Regions from separate parts of the Homo sapiens genome. Here region 1 is linked to region 2. Evidence: promoter capture Hi-C in human tissues and cell types (Jung and others, 2019). All regions are on one chromosome and are shown on one strand. Each heading gives the region's core, a stretch centred on a gene start or on the middle of the fragment in contact. The rest is flanking DNA. Distances are from core to core; before and after follow the strand shown.

Evidence for each region. Contacts are between HindIII fragments. The study calls those that stand out against the background at their distance.
Region 1: a contact is called between a fragment that was not itself captured here and the fragment with the promoter of SLC30A2 in region 2, in 2 of the 25 tissues and cell types used here (IMR-90 fibroblasts and spleen).

What each region holds. Positions count from the first base shown.
Region 1 is chr1:25,970,174-25,972,889 of GRCh38, forward strand. It overlaps PAFAH2 (platelet activating factor acetylhydrolase 2), which reads right to left. Exons shown (of 11, transcript NM_000437.4): 10 at 2,385-2,539. Among named protein-coding and RNA genes, the nearest start is that of PAFAH2, 27 kb to the right of the region's middle. The HindIII fragment of the contact is 4,625 bases long and covers 1-2,716 here.
Region 2 is chr1:26,044,484-26,047,370 of GRCh38, forward strand. It overlaps SLC30A2 (solute carrier family 30 member 2), which reads right to left and starts at 1,635. Exons shown (of 8, transcript NM_001004434.3): 1 at 1,364-1,635; 2 at 514-734. The coding sequence starts at 1,413. RefSeq lists an enhancer at 666-1,234. The HindIII fragment of the contact is 12,838 bases long and covers 1-2,887 here.

The DNA.
Region 1 (2,716 bases), core at 140-2,639, 75 kb before region 2:
AGCACAGAGACGGCCAGGCGCGATGGCTCACACCTGTAATCCCAGCACTTTGGGAGGCCGAGGCAGGTGGATCACTGGAGGTTAGGAGTTCGAGACCAGCCAGGCCAACATGGTGAAACCCTGTCTCTACTAAAAATACAAAAAGTAGCTGGGTGTGGTGGCACATGCCTGTAGTCCCAGCTACTTGGGAGGCTGTGGCAGGAGAACTGCCGGAGAATCGCTTGAACCCAGGAGGTTGAGGTTGCAGTGAGCTGAGATCACACCACTGCACTCCAGCCTGAGAGACAGAGTGAGACTCCGTCTCAAACAAAACAAAACAAAACAAAAAACAGAGCACAGAAGAGACTGTCCAGGATGGCACCGGTCAGACCACATCTAATACATTATAGTCAAGTCAGGGCACCACAGTTTATCTATTTATTTTATTTTTTGGAGACGGTATCACTCTGTTGCCCAGGCTGGAGTGCAATGGCATGATCTTGGCTCACTGCAGTCTTGACCTCCCAGGCTCAAGTGATCCTTCCACCCCAGCCTCCCGAGTAGCTGGGACTATAGGCACATGCCACCATACCTGGCTAATTTTATTTATTTTTTTGCTGAGATGGGGTCTCACTATGTTGCACAGGCTGGTCTCAAACCCGTGGCCTCAAGCAATCCTCCCATCTCAGCCTCCCAAAGTAGCTGGGATTACAGATGTTGAGCTACCACACCCGGCCAGGGCACTACACTTTAGAAGGGGCACCAAAAAACAGCGACTCCAAAGGAAGGGGATAACAAATAGCAACATGGGGAATTGAACCGGGACAGGTGGAGGTACCACGAACATTTAGTTTAATAAACAGAACACTCAGAGAAGACTAGCATAGGTGACTTCAAATATCTAGGGAACTGCCAGGTGCCGTCTGAGGCTTCTATGGGTAGCTCTTGAGGGGTTAACCTGGGCAAGTAGAGGAGGGTTACAAACTAGGAGATCTTGCTCTTAGGTTAGAGTTAAGTCAAACCTTTGAAATTCAGACAAGCCTGGCTCCTTTCTCATGGAAACTGCCCTGCACACAGCACCTGCTGAGGGATCAGAAAGGGACCTCTGATGCAGAGAGCTCAGAGCCTAGCTGGGACGGGGCTACAGTGTGTTCTGGTGGGCAAAGAGGAGCTGATACAATCAAATTGCCTCTCTTGGAAATCTGTTCAAAGAAATCCAAAAAAATATGGCAGTGAGCAGTGGGAGCTGAAGATGAAAGGATGCCGCAAGCTAAAGGGAACACACTCTGAGTGGTTCAAGCCGAGTGAAGTTATGAGGAAGCAGAAATGGAATAAACAGCTGCTATCAGTGAGAGAAAAACCACAGAGCAGAAAAAAAAATGCATAACGGAACAAAGAAAAAGAGATGTCGTGAGAGGAAGACACAGAGAGACTGAACCCATGAGACAGACGGAAAGAAAAGTCAGTCCTGCCAGCCACCCTGATTTCTATAACTGCACTCCCACCCAGTCCAGGTGCACTCTCATAAACAAACTCCCCTTTTTTTCTCAAGCTAAGTTTGTGAACCTCTAGTCTTTGTAACCAATAAAGCTTAATAAGAGGATGCCTCCTCTGGGTGGAAGCTGGACCATGGACCTCTGCAGGCCTCGCCCTTTAGCTGCTCTATGACTGATGACATTATTCATAGTCCTTCCATGCTTTGTTTCTTTAAAACACTTCCATAAATTTAGCCCGTTATCCTCATAAACTCCCCTACAATGCAGATAAGGTGGGCAATAATGAGTCTGGGTAAGGAGAGAGGTGGTGGAGTAGAGAGAGGTGAATACTCCATTTACAGGGAGGAAACCAAGGTTCAGAGAGGTTAAATGACTAGGCCAGGTCATTCTGCAAGTAAGATAGTCAGGATCTCCAAACTTTCAGTTAAGTATTTTTTCTTATTTATTTGTTTAATTATTTATTTAGAAACAAGGTCTTGCTCTGTTGCTCAGACTGGAGTTCAGTGGTGCAATCATGGCTCACTGCAGCCTAGACCTCCTAGGCTTAACTGATCCTCCCACCGTAGCCTCTCGAGTAGCTGGGACTATAGGTGTGTGCCACCACACCCAGCTAATTTTTTTTTTTTTTTGGTAAAGATAGAGTCTCACTATGTTGCTCAGACTGGTCTCGAACTCCTGGCCCCAAGCCATCCTCCCACCTCAACCCACCAAAGTGCTAGGATTACAGGCGTGAGCCACTGCACCTGGACTTGTTTTTTCTGTAATTCTATGTAAGTCTCTCCTTCACTCAGGTTTTCCATTTGCCATAAATCTCCTTCCCAGATCCCAGACATGTCAGAGTTCTCACTCTGCTGCAAGGAAATCTAAGGGACCCCACAGCTGCCCCAAGAGCCCCAGTTTTCTCCTTACCGAGGTGCTTCTGCAGGAAGGCCAACATGGCCCGTACCATAACCTCCTGCCCTTCATAGGGGTCCAGGCTCCCACGGGTTTCAGTGGAGAAGAATTTACCAATCAAGTTGCCAGTCACAAAAGCAAAGTCAGTTTGACTCCGATGAACAGAACCACTAGGGGAAAAGAAAAACAACTGGCAGGGGTCTGGCGGCTAGGGCATACAGATGTGTGTTAGGCACCTACTATGTGCAAGGTGCTTTTCATGTATTATCACACTTTATTTTCACAGCAACCTTGTAAGGGAAGTATTTTCCCCCTTGACAGAATCCAAGGAGAGAAACTATCTGCTT
Region 2 (2,887 bases), core at 385-2,884:
TGGCTCCCAAGACTGTGTGTGCAGCAGGGAGACCACAGGCTCTGGAAGAGGACATTCTGGGCTCAAGATCTCTCTACCCATGAGCTGTACCACCGTGACAAGTGACCTACTCTCTCTGAGCCTCAACTTCCACTCTCTGTGAAATGGGCCACCAATATCTACTTAGAGGGTGAATGTGCACATCAAGTTCAAATAGGGACTGGAAAACATAGCAGATACTCAGTAAATGCTCTTCCCTTCTAGGAATTCAGGCCTTCCCTTAGCTACGAGTTGTGCGTGATCTTTGGCAAGTTACTTCACCTGAACATGCCTCAGTTTCATCATCTGTAAAGTAAGGAGAATAACGTCACCCATGTGAGAACACAGGTTGTTGTTAGACCTGCATCAGATAATGTGTATATAAAGGCTTACTGTAGTGTGTGTTCAGTAATTGGGGCTTTTAGTGTCAGTATTGCTGGGAACATCCAGTCTATCCATGCACCAACTTCATTTAATTAGCCCAAAAGTGCTTACCAACGACTTCTCCGATCATGAACAACAGGCAGATGGCAGAGGCTACATACAGCTGGCGCTGGGCCTTCCCCTTCTTGGGGTCACAGTGACTGTCAGGACCCTTCTGAGCATGGCAGTGATGGTTGCTCTGGGCAGCCAGCTCAATGGCCTGCAAGTCCAGGCCAGGTCGGGGCAGAGGAATCCAGCCAGCCCCTTCCTGCCACAGAGATCCCGTGTATGACCTGGCCAGAGGGGAAGAGAGGGAACGCTCAGCTCTGAGATGAGGTAAGGAGGGCCGACTCTAGTCCCATTTCTCTGTGAGGCCTTGTGTCCACTGGGAAAAATAGCTAAGGACGCTCCGAGCTCGACAAACCAGAGGTGAGAAGCCTGTATTCAGACGGGGATGATAGGGGAATGGGAGTCCTGGGGCCCGGGGCCCTTCAGAGGCCAGAGGAGGTGAAGACCCTGGGAACCGGCCAAGGGGCGTGCTGTCCAGTGGAGCGCGGGGAAGGAACAGAGCGCAGGCTCTGGGAGAACAGCAGGCCCCCTCCAGCGCACTTGGGACACAGGGCCTCCCCGGGGCGGGGCTGCCTGGGGCAAAGTGCTGGGCGGGGCGGGACTCCAGGCATGGGAACCGCCAATCCCCCGGCCCCAGGCCCCCCGCGGGCAGGGGTCAGAATCTGGGCTGCGCCCCAAGGGAGAGACGGTCCTTGGGCCACAGCCCATTATCTTCGTTCCCTCACCTCACCCCACCCCTCCTGCATGGTCCCAGCTCAAGCCGCAGCCAAAACCAACCACTGCTAGGATGGCAAATGCGGAGGTGCGTCGGCTGCCGCCAAAATTCCCGCCCGTCCCCAGGCTCTCGCCTTACCGGATTGCCGGCCTGGCGTCCAACAGATGCTGCTTCTCCTTGGCCTCCATGCAGTCCCGCGCCGAGTCCCGGCAGCCGCGCAGCCGCCCCGCCGAGTGCGCCCTGAAAGTTGCGCGCGGGACTCCGGGTGGCGCTCACCCACCTGCCCCGAGGGCCCCGCGAGGTGCGCTCACTCCGGCCCGGCTCCTGCGGCCCCTGAGCTCCCCCGGCTCCCGCTGCGGCTGCAGCTCCGGCTCTGGCTCCGCGTGCCAAGCGCTCCCGTGTCTCGGGTCAGCCGCTGCGCCCCGCGGCCGCCGGCTTTATCCGGCCCTCGCCAACCCGTGTGAAGCTGCCGTCGGCGCGTCGTGTGCAAAAGCCCGCGGGGAAGGGGGGGCGGTCGCCGGCTGCAAAAGGCCCGGCTGTGGCCCCGCACACCTGTGCCTGCGCCCATGGGGCCCGCGGAGCCCACCTGCCGGCCGCGAGAAGTTTGCCAGCCTTCGCCCGGCGCGGCGCCGGGTGTTGCTGAGTGAGGACGGGGTGACGCCTGCGCCCCCTCTCCCGCGCGGGGTGCGCCGCCTCGCCGCCGAAAAGTTCTCGACTTTAGTTTGTAGAAATCCGCTTTGGTGGTCCCGACGGCAGGAATGTGGCTCCTTGCCTCGGAAGAGGGTCTCCAGAGGCTACTGGGGCCGCGTCTGCCCCCTCCGACTGGCGGCTGCCCTGGGCTTGATCATGTTCCCCTCTCAGGCCGGAGACCCCCCGAGGTCGGCTTGCGTTCCTGTCCTCCTGCTAGGAGGGTCCTGGGGTGGGGTGGGCTGCGCCGCCCTCAGGCTGGGGCAGTGTCTCTCCCTAGGACCGGCTGGGACTGATCGACCCATCCTCGCCACTGAAGCAGCGCCAGCTCCTCCTCTCCTGCGCGCAGGAGAATCTGGAGTGGCCGGCTTTGTCTCCACCCGCACAGAGAACAGTGTCATCGGCAGTCACCATCGGAGCAGAGACGACCACTGCCACTGCTGCCACCCCTTCTCCCCTCCCCCGCAGCGGCTCCTGGGAGCCCCAGGAAGCCTGACAAGCAAGCCTGGGAGATGCAGGCCGGAGGTGCCACCGTGTTGGTACCGCTGGGAGAAGCCCTGTCCTTCCTGGCCAGCTTGGTGCCCCACCCACTTGAAGCAGCCTCCTTCCCTGGCGGTTCTTGGGGATTGGGGAGCCTGTGGCCCCCACGCTGGCCTCTGACAGGTGCCCTCTGTGTAGAAAGAAGCTGCTGGAGACCTCCCTGTCTGGTCAATTCGTCTCCCCAGCACCCTTTGTCGCTAGGACCATAGGCTTGGTGGGTATGGCCTTTCACAGAGCCAAGAGTCAGAGGTGCAGGCCTCTTGCCCACACCACTGGGGACAGGAAGGGGCTCTTTCAGTCTCTCATCTTGTAGGAGACGGGGTGCCAGGAGTGAGGATGTGAGGTGCACCCGCTCTGCTTGGGTCCTCACTGAGTGCCTCTCTGCTTCTCTGGACTCTGGTTTTCTTCTGGAAAACCTCAGACACCCTGGTTTTC